Linked DNA regions of Homo sapiens: region 2 is linked to region 1. Evidence: promoter capture Hi-C in human tissues and cell types (Jung and others, 2019). All regions are on one chromosome and are shown on one strand. The core of a region is centred on a gene start or on the middle of the fragment in contact, and the rest is flanking DNA. Distances in the headings are between cores, read along the strand shown. Region 1 holds the start of ZNF382 (zinc finger protein 382). Region 2 overlaps ZNF569 (zinc finger protein 569).

Evidence for each region. The method cuts DNA at HindIII sites, captures the fragments that hold promoters and counts their contacts. A contact is called where the count stands out against the background at its distance.
Region 2: a fragment that was not itself captured here is called in contact with the fragment with the promoter of ZNF382 in region 1 in 1 of the 25 tissues and cell types used here (hippocampus).

The regions. Positions count from the first base shown.
Region 1 is chr19:36,602,102-36,607,470 of GRCh38, reverse strand. ZNF382 (zinc finger protein 382) reads right to left here and starts at 2,158. Exons shown (of 5, transcript NM_032825.5): 1 at 2,124-2,158. It also overlaps a transcript of ZNF529 not described here. RefSeq lists enhancers at 1,707-1,766, 2,747-2,886 and a silencer at 2,127-2,186. The HindIII fragment of the contact is 9,037 bases long and covers 1-4,825 here.
Region 2 is chr19:37,454,385-37,459,753 of GRCh38, reverse strand. The region is part of intron 2 of ZNF569 (zinc finger protein 569); the gene reads left to right. Among named protein-coding and RNA genes, the nearest start is that of ZNF569, 10 kb to the left of the region's middle. The HindIII fragment of the contact is 6,345 bases long and covers 1-5,369 here.

The DNA.
Region 1 (5,369 bases), core at 909-3,408:
CATGAATGTTCACTATTTCAGCACTTGTCCACCCTGTGTACCCTTCAGATGTCCAGGATGGTAGTTAGTGGGAAAACAGACAAATCAGGCTCCCTCACAAACACCAGAAACCCAGTCTCTTGGTAAAGTATACAGGATTCTGGGGAACCTGTTTTAGCTTGAAGAGAGGGAACACTGTGTTTTTCCCTCTGCAGCTCTGCCTTCCATCTACCTCTAACCACAGGTTTACTGTGTATTTCCAAACGGTTCTTCTTGGACTTTTTGCCAATTTACACTGATAGTAGTGGATGAGAATACCTTCCCAAGCCCTGATGAAGACAGTTGACAACTTTTAAATCTTTGCCTATCTGGTCTATGTTGTAGTTGAGAATAATCTTTTTTTTTTTTTTTTTTGAGACAGAGTTTCACTCTTGTTGCCCAGGCTGGAGTGCAATGGTACAATCTTGACTGACCGCAACCTCCACCTCCCGGGTTCAAGCGATTCTCCTGCCTCAGCCTCCTGAGTAGCTGGGATTACAGGCATGCACCACCATGCCCGGCTAATTTTGTATTTTTAGTAGAGATGGGGTTTCTCCATGTTGGTCAGGCTGGTCTCGAATTCTCGATCTCAGGTGATCTGCCCACCTTGGCCTCCCAAAATGCTGGGATTACAGGCATCAGTCACTGCACCAGGCCCGCAAAATAACTATTTTAATTACTACAGTGAGACTGGACTTATTAAAAATCTATCAAATACTTTTTATTATCTTAGCAAGCCTAAGGGAGTAGGAAACCTCACTCATATACAAGTGTTGAAAGTGGTAGTTATGCCAGGCACAGTGGCTCACACCTGTAATCCCAGTACTTTGGCAGGCCGAGGGGGCGGGGGGAGGGGATCACTTGAGGTCAGGAGTTCAAGACCAGCCTGGGCAACATGGTGAAACCCCATCTCTACTAAAAATACAAAAACTAGCCGAGCGTGGTGGCACAAGCCTGTAGTCCCAGCTACTCAGGAAGCTGGGGCAGGAGAATCACTTGAACTTCAGAGGTAGAGGTGGCAGTGAGCAGAGATCATGCCACTACACTCCAGCCTGGGCAAAAGAGCAAGACCTTGTCTTAAAACAAACAAAAAACAACAACAAAAGTGGTAGTTATGGTAAAAAAAAAAAAAAAAAAAAAATTTCCTGCATGTCCCCAATGGAATGCTATTCATTTCAACATACTGGTTTTAGTTAATATGGTGTTTCCAGGAAATGAATCTGGGAATTATGAAAATCATCTCTTCCCCTCTGATACTGTTATCTCTATTTTATTTGCTAAATTGCTACTTAGTTACAGTTTTGGAGGCAGGCTTAATGGCTACTATTCAGATAATCAAGTCTTACATAACCAACTAGCCATGGTCATAACAGAGTTCCTCAATCATTCAAATATTTAGGTCACTAAGGCCACAAAACCACCAGAAGTAACAGTAGGTTACAAACACATGCAGAGTCACAGTCAATCAAACATCCTTCAGAGAACCACCAACCTACAGGCCCCACTTGTCATTCACAACCTCAGACAGCAGCTAACACGACTCCAGGCAGTCACAACCACACCTACAAATCACTTGCAATTCTCCACACTCAAAGGCAGTCTCAAATGCGACTCACACCTAATCTAAAAATAGACACACGCAGAGGAAACCTCGCGCAGCAACACTACTCCGTTCACTTTTCACACACAATCGGCCACAACATCCCAAAGAGAGGCAAGCACCTAAAATGCAGCAGGTTGGGCGCAGGAGGCCACCCCTATTCAGCGCGCGCCCGCGCGCGCGAACACACAGCGCCCGCTCCGCGCGGGGACCCGCCGCCAGCGATGGCGCTTCCGCGGGATCAGAACGGGCAAAATCCCCCTTCGCGGAGCTCGCTCCGGGTCACCCTCAAGGTCACGCCCATGGACCACGCCCGAGGCCCGGCTCGTACAGATCGGAGCGTCTGGATACCGCGGTCCCGGTTTCCTCCTCAGAATTTCCAGGCCCGGCTCGGACTCTTGGTTACCTCCCTGGCCTCCCCACCCGGTTCCGCGTCCTTAGACAGCTCTCCCGGAACGGAGCTCCCAGTGCCCTCCTTGGCCTCCTCAGCACCCCTGGCACCCACCAAGCCTCACCCCCGGCCCAGGGTGAGTCGTCTGCGCCTGCGCACTCGCGCGTGGGCCTGAGCTCCCAGGAGTCTCCGGGGCGGCCCGTTAGTCGCCGCGCGGTGCTAGCTGCCGGCGCTCCCCTCCGTTTGCACCCACGGCCGCCCTATTGCGGCTGGCACTACGCTTCTGCCAGGACCCCGGCTCCCTTTTCCGTTGACCTGGTGTTCGTTTTCCATGTGGTGAGTTGAGGTGACCCGGGTCTGGATGCGAGAAGAGCTCACGGCAGGGGACCTGGGTTCATGGGACGCGGAGAGGGTTTGTGGAGGCAGAAGCCCCAGGCCTGTGTGCAAGTCACCTGCTGGGGAGGGAGACTGTGTGATTGTGTTTGTGTGTGCCGTTCTGTGGCTGCGTCCGTGTGTGGTGGTGTGAGTGGGCGCGCCTGTGATGGTCCCGGGGGGGCGGGGGGTGTGCACAGCAGGGGGTGTGTGTGCACAGCAGGTGCACAGCCCGGGACAGCCCTGACTGTCCCCGATTGGGCCCGCGGGACTGAGTGGGGGCGGGGCCGTTTGTGTGACGGCGCTGAGCGGTGACTATGAATGTGTCATGCTGTTATCAGTGATCCTGTGACAGCGCTGTTGTGACCCACTGGAGACTGTGATCAAAACTGGCCTGGTGCAGCTTTTGTAGAGTTTGATTTCTGCAGTTCTGGGGCTCAGGAATACGTGGACAAGGTCCCCGTATGGCTCGATCTGTGTCTGTGAAGACTCTGAGACCTTCTGTTCTAAAGCATGGCCCCTGTCGCTTTCATAATGCATAATACACAGTGGCATGCAGCCTCGCCAACCTCTGGGGCCAATTTTAAGTTACGTGGTTTCTTGGAGTTTGTTATACTGGGATTTCTTTCACTGCCTCAGTCATTTCACCTTATAACCACGTTGCACAGTGTGCAGTCAAATGGCTATCGAAAAGAAAGTTGGATATTTGAGATCCAGAATGAAGTTTCCAACTGAAAAAGCACAGCCTTGTGTTTCACATGGACAAGGCTGTGTTCTGATATGCACAGCCTCGTGTTTGATATGGAGATGTTAGAGCTGGAATTGCTCCCAAGGCAAGGTTCTGGGAAGATATGATATTGAGGCCCCAGGAGTAGGATTCGTTTCTCCAAAGATTTTGTGTGTGTGTGTGAGATGGAGTTTTGCTCTTGTTGCCCAGGCTGGAGTGCAGTGGCGCAATCTCGGCTCATTGCAACCTCCGCCTTCCGGGTTCAAGCAATTCTCCTGCCTCAGCCTCCCGAGTAGCTGGGATTACAGGCATGCACCACCATGCCCGGCTCATTTTTGTATTTTTAGTAGAGACGGGGTTTCACCATGTTGGTCAGACTGGTCTCGAACTCCTGACCTCAGGTGATCCACCCGCCTCGGCTTCCCAAAGTGCTGGGATTACAGGCGTGAGCCACCGTGCCTAGCCAAAAGATCCCTTTTGGAAGCTCTGTGGGGGCAAGTTGAATATTGCAGATCCACAGCATTTTCATAGCTGTCTAAAGGAAATTATTGTGAATACAGAAACATTTCAGTCCCAGGCTTTGGTGAACCTGACTTTTCTTTATGAAGGGAAGAGTCAACAATATTCCAGTCTTTCTCATACTTCCATCTGGTCATATTCAGCATGGGTTATGGAAGCTTGCCGGTGGTGAAGAATGTGTTCTTATTTAGCCTGTCTGGGCTCCAAGAAAGGCTGAGTATATTGTGATTCCCTTTCTTTCCACATTTTGCTGTATTCCAAGAGAAGAGCTCTGAGAGAAGAAAAGCATTGTAGTTGCACATTTTAAAGCAAAGCTGGAGGTCATTTTGATTTTTTTCTTTGTTTTATGAAATGCATTTTTGTTTTTCAGGATGTGGAATAACTTCATTTGAAATGCTCACCAAATAGTGACTTATCTATTTACCTGGTCTCTAGTCCTTCTCTTCCCAGTTACTGATGACATTATGAAGACAGATCTCCTTCTTTCCAGTACCTCATCAGATGCCCTTCCTAGAGTTAATTTTCATATAACACCTTGACAGTATGTTCACTTCTCCTGTGTGCTCTTTTTGTTTAAGCATTCTCATGACATAGAAATAGTCTGCCTTCACACGGTGATTTGTTACGGAGGAGACCAATTGCTTAGGTAGAATTACACATTAGATAGTTTAGATTTTCTTCAGAGACATGAGTGGAAAAACAGCAAGATAGGAGATCGTTTGAATGGTTATAGTAACTTTTTTTGTTTTAGAGGACCTTAGGAGTTAGAATATTATTGCAGAGTATGTGCAGAGAGAGCTGTTAAGAAGGGCAGGAAGTTTTTCCGAGGGGATACCTTAGGAGATTTATATGGTACCAGCTAGTTCTTGCATGAGGTTTGGCCGCATCACGTGTTTTTTTTTTTTTTTCTTTTGAGACGGAGTTTCACTTTTGTTGCCCAGGCTGGAGTGCAATGGTGCGATCTTGGCTCACTGAAACCTCCGCCTTCTGGGTTCAAGCGATTCTCCTCCCTCAGCCTCCCGAGTAGCTGGGATTACAGGCATGCGCCACCATGCCTGGCTAGTTTTGTATTTTTAGTAGAGACGGGGTTTCTCCATGTTGATCAGGCTGGTCCTGAACTCCCCCCACCTCAGGTGATCCACCTGCCTCAGTCTCACAAAGTGCTGGGATTACAGGCGTGAGCCACCGTGCCCGGCCAGGTGTTTTTTTCTTTTTTTCCCCCAAGTCACATAACTGTGTAGACTGTGTGAGTATGGTATAATGGTCTCTGGGTCTAGAACAGGGGTTTGCAAACTATGGCCCTGTGGGCCAAATCCAGCCTGTAGCCTGTATTTTTGTATGGCTTGTGAACTGATTGGTTTTAACTTTTTGTTAATAGTTGACCACGAAAAAAAAAAAAAGGAGAGTAATATTTCATGACATGTGAAAATTATATGCAATTTAAATTTGTGTCCATAAATAAAGTTTTGGATTTTGGCAATTAAAAATTTGTGGAGGTGGCCAGGCGCGGTGGCTCACACCTGTAATCCCAGCACTTTGGGAGGTCAAGGTGGGTGGATCACAAGGTCGGGAGTTCGACACCAGCCTGACCAACATGGCAAAACACCATCTCTACTAAAAATACAAAAATTAGCTGGGCATGGTGGCATATGCCTGTAATCCCAGCTACTCGGGAGCCTGAGGCAGGAGAATTGCTTGAACCTGGGAGGCGGAGGTTGCAGTGAGCCGAGATCGCGCCACTG
Region 2 (5,369 bases), core at 1,448-3,947, 850 kb before region 1:
GTAATCACCTAATACATTGTTATCATTATAGCCTTTAACAAACATTTATCTTTTAGATCAATTACTAATAAAAGAACCAAAAGATTTTATCTTACCTTCATGATTTTGTCTCTGGTGCTCTTCCTTTCTTTATGTAAATCCATGTTTCTGACCTATATTGTTTTTCTTCTGCCTAAATAACTTTTTAACATTTCTTACAGGGTAGGTCTGCTGGTGATGAATTCCCTTAGTTTTTGTTAGAAATGAAAGTCTTCATTTCTCCTTCAACTTTGAAGGATAATTTCCCTGGATAGAGAGAATTCTAGGTTGGTGGCTCTTTTTCATTTAATGCTTTAGATATTTCACACCACTTTCTTCTTGTTTATATAGTTTCTGACAAGAAGTCTGCTGTAATTTTTATCAGTGTTGTTTTATAGGTAAGGTGTTACTTTTCTCTGGGTTCCTTGACTATCTTTTCTTTGTTTTTTTTTGTTGTTGTTTTTTCAGTTTCAATATGATATACACGTGTGGTTTTTTTTGGTATTTATCTTGCTTAGTGTTCTTTGCGCTTCCTCAGCCTATGGTTTGGTGTGTGTCACTAATTTGAAACATTCATGGACATTATTACTTACAATATTTCATCTGTGTTCTCTTTTTTCTCCTTTTGGTTTTCTAATTGGGAAAATAGATGTCTGTTTAATAGATACATGTTTTGATATTGTCCCATGGTTTGGATGTTCTCCCATGGTTTGGATGTTCTCTTTTGTTTTTCATTCTTTTTCCTCTGTGCATTTTAGTTTGGGAAGTTTCTTTTGAAGTTTCTATTTTCAGGTTCACTGATTGTTTCCTCTACTGTGTTGAGTTTGTTGATGAGTCCATTGAAGGCATTCTTTGTTTTTATTAATATGTTTTTGATTTCTAGCATTTCTTTTGATTCTTTCTTATAGTTCGCATTTCCCTGCTTACAGTACCCATCTCTTTTTCTAACTTTCTCATAGAGCACTCAAAATATTAATCATAGTTATTTTAAATTCATTGCACAAAATTACTGCACATCTTTTCTTATATAGGTTGTGCTGGGCCATGAAACATCAAACCATATGACCAGTCCCTGCCATAAGTGGTTCACAGTCCTACTTAGATAAATCAGTGGGTGCACTGGCAGAGTGATAAATGCCACAAGATGGTTAAGCTCATGAGATACAGAAGTACAAATAGATCTACATAGACGGATATCCCAATCAAATGATAAAGTTGTTCTTAATCTGATCTCTTTAAGAACAAGAAGGTATTGGTCAAAGGCAAGAAGGAACTGATGATCAGCAATCAAGAGATAGTTTTTAGGCATGGAAACGTAATATACAGTAACTGTTAAGGAGCAATGCTTTGTATATTTTAAGAAAGGTATGTAATTATGTATGGCTGGAGTTTACTTTCAAGGAGTGAAAGATGAAGCTAATGAGGTATTCAGAAACAAAATTATAAAAGTTGTCATTGAAGTAATTTAAGGTAATACTCATGTAACAAACAAGCACATGTACCCCTTGAATCTAAAATAAAATACACTTTTTAAAAAGGACTCCATAAAGAATATAAAAATATCAGGCTGGGCATGGTGGCTCAGGCCTATAATCCTAGCACTTTGGGAGGCCAAGGTGGGCAGATCACTTGAGCCCAAGTGTTCAAGACCAGCCTGGGCAACATGGCAAAACCCCATCTTTACCAAAAATATCAAAATTAACCAGGCATGGTTGTGCATGCCTGTGGTCCCAGCTACTTGGGAGGCTGAGATGGGAGAATCACTTGAATCTCGGAGATGAAGCCTGCAGCGAGCCATGCGCTCCTCCAGCTTGGGCAACAGAGCGAGACTCTGTCTCCAAAAAAAAAGAATATAAAAATATCTAAGATTTTCCAGTTTTATTTTGTTTATTCTTTTTTTTAATACTTTAAGTTCTAGGGTACATGTGCACAACATGCAGGTTTGTTACATATGTATACATGTCCCATGTTCGTGTGCTGCACCCATTAACTCGTCATTCACATTAGGTATATCTCCTAATGCTATCCCTCCCCCCTCCCCCAACCCCATGACAGGCCCCAGTGTGTGATGTTCCCCATCCTGTGTCCAAGTGTTCTCATTGTTCAGTTCCCATCCATGAGTGAGAACATGTGGTGTTTGGTTTTCTGTCCTTGCGATAGTTTGCTCAGAATGATGGTTTCCAGCTTCATCCATGTCCCTACAAAGGACATGAACTTATCCTTTTTATGGTTGCATAGTATTCCATGGTTATTTTGTTTATTCTTAAACATTATATACCAATTCCACATTCCATCACTCTCTTTTTCTTTCATATTTCCACATACCTCAGTTTCTCTGTTACCATAAGCCAGTAAATTTTGGGCAAGGGGAAAAAAAGAAGTTTAAACAGGGGAGTGTTACTTAAGATGCATTTTATAAGTATAGAATTCTCGATTAAATCCTCAATTTATTTTAAAATTGGTTTTAAAGGATATTGTTGCGACAACTAGGGAAGTATAGAGATAATATATTTTATTGTACGAATGTTTAATATCTTTGGTGTGATAATGGCATTGTGTTTATGTAGGAGGCTTCTTAGTTTTTGGAGGTACATTCTGAAAGAGTTAACGTGAAGTTTGTGTATATGTTTTTAGAGAAGGAAAGAGAGGTAGAAAAATGTGGCAATGCTGAATATAGATTAAGGGTTTTAGAAGTATTCTTTGTACTGATCTTCCAACATTTTTGTAGTTTGAGTTTTGTGTTTTTTGTTTTTTGTTTTTTTTTTTTTGAGACGGTGTCTCCCTCTGTTGCCCAGGCTGGAGTGCAATGGCGCGATCTAGACTCACTGCAACCTCCGCCTCCTGGGTTCAAGCGATTCTCCTGCCTCAGCCTCCTGAGTAGCTAGGATTACAGGCGCCTGCCACCATGCCCAGCTAATTTTTTGTATTTTTAGGAGAGGTGAGGTTTCACTATGTTGGCGAGGCCAATCTCGAACTCCTGACCTTGTGATCCGCCCACCTCAGCCTCCCAAAGTGCTGGGATTACAGGTGTGAGCCACTGTGCCTGGCCTCGAGTTTTTAAAAGTAATAAATTTTGGAAGAAAATTTCTAGAATGTATACATACAAGTATGTTTAGAGTGAACTAGAGGGAAGGAAAGTAGGAGGCAGTTAAACTGTTTTATGAAGCTTCAACTCCCTGTCTAAAGAAAAAGTTTTCTTAATGGAGAGCTCTGTGACTTAATGTTTAACTAACATAAGTGGGAGCTTCCTTCTCAAACATACGGGCCCTAAGAGAGAAGTAGAAATGTTAAGAGATAAAATATAAGACACTTAGATGATCAGTTTAAGGGATAGATCATCCTATTCTTAGGAATTATACGTAAGAGAAAGTAGAGAAAATGAAAACAAAAACGTGCAAGAAAATTTCCTAGAAGAGAACAATAAATATACGGATTGAAATGACCGTATGTCCGTGATATATACTGACCAAAAGCTCAGTGCGATTAATGAGAAAAACCCACACCAACTATCGGAAACCAATAAGAGAGAAGAAAGGCCAAAAACTTTCTACAGAGGAAAAAAAAAGTTGGAATGATCTAGAAGTAGAATGTCAATGTACAGCAACACTAGAAGTCACTGGAGCCACAAAGTGAAGTCACATTGCTTTAAATTTCTAAGGAAAAACTGTTTTTCTGAGAAGCCTACAGTTAGCCAAATTATTATTTGAGTATGAGAGTAGAATAAAAATGTTTTCAAACATGCCAACCAAATTAAAGAGAAAACAAAGTAAAGAAGCTTTTGAGAAATTAAATTTTTGATTCCTGTAGTTGCAACTGGCTTTGGCAACTTTAGATCCCAGATAGAGCGGTACCCACAGAGTTTAATGCTGTTCTTCCAGCCATCAGTGGGTGCCCTTATATAAGTGGGTCCAGCCCTTATATCCTTCTTTCATGTGTCATTGGCCCTTTTCCCTTGTGATTTAAACATGTGTTGCAAAGTGGTGTGGTAGGACCTGGAATCCGGGGACACATGGAAATAGTGGAGAGAAGACTAGGAAAGAGTTGGGGGTGGGGGAGAAAATACTGTTGTCCACCACAGAGCCATATCCCCAGTCTGTGAGTTAGTTCACGCTAACTAGAGAATTTCTGCCTTGAGAGATGCTGCCAGGTGTAGAGCTTTCAATGAGTTTTAGGTTTTTGGCAAAACGTGGATTCAAGCAAGTGGAGTGTTAAAAAATATATATTATTATGTAGATATGGCAGTTGCTGTAAGCATTTTAACTGTATCAGAGCTCATTTCAGGAGGGAATCATGCATGATAGTCCAGAAACTAAACAAATTGATATGGCTGGAAGTAAGTTCTTTGCAGTGGAAAGAAAAATAACATTTGTTATGAATATAACATTTAGTTTGTGAATTTATTTCTAAAGTATTTCCTCAATTAGCTTAAAGTTGAGTTCCTCCAGTATACTGAATTCCGTCTTTTCTGAGGCCTTACCAATTGCTACTGCTTTGCTTGTAATGCTTTCCCACTCCCACTCCATCCTAGCTAATTTACTTGACTTTAAACTGTTATCCTAATCCTAACTTTATTTGCAAGGTATTTTTGAGCCCCATGACAAAATAAACTGAAGGACTTCTCAAAAGTTTATTGTAATGAGGGGACTTTGGGTTTCTCCTTAGGGATGTAAACAGCTGGAAAGAACTTTGCTTCAATCATTACAACAAGGAAACTACAAACTTCTACCGTACAACAAGGAAATGGACAAACTACAAAATAATTTTTCTAGGACCCTTCAGAGAACTGAGGTCACAGGGCAACCAAGTAATCTTAAATCTGGGGAAAGAAAGATGCCAGCTGAGAGAAACAGGACTCAAGCTTTACTTACCTGGGATGGACTCTGCCAGACACCATATAAGCCAGTAAGAAAATACAGCTATCAAGTTTTTAAACAAATTTTTAAAGTGTGAATGTCAGCTAATGAAAGTGTGAAACCACTGGGGGACTTGCAAAATTAGGGAGGTGGGGGTTGCAGTCTCTTGTAGGCTTTTCCTCTGGGAATCCCAACAGGCACTCATAGGGAAGATGGGAGTGAATCCTGAGAAGCCTTTCCTTGTGGTGTTAGCTGGGGGAGGGCAACAGCAGCCCAAACCCATCTTCCCTATCACTGCATAATGAAGAGCAGCAAAAACAGTTGCCTTAGGAGACTTGTAGAAAGCTATTGCAGTTTAGGAAAGGGACCTGAAAAAAAGTAATATCTCTGGGAGTAGGGGAGGAATATGCTCTAGGACTAGCACTACAGCTGGCAGAGCGGCAAGAGCACTTGTGAAGGCCACATCCCCAAGACTTAGGGATATGGTGTCTGCCTAAG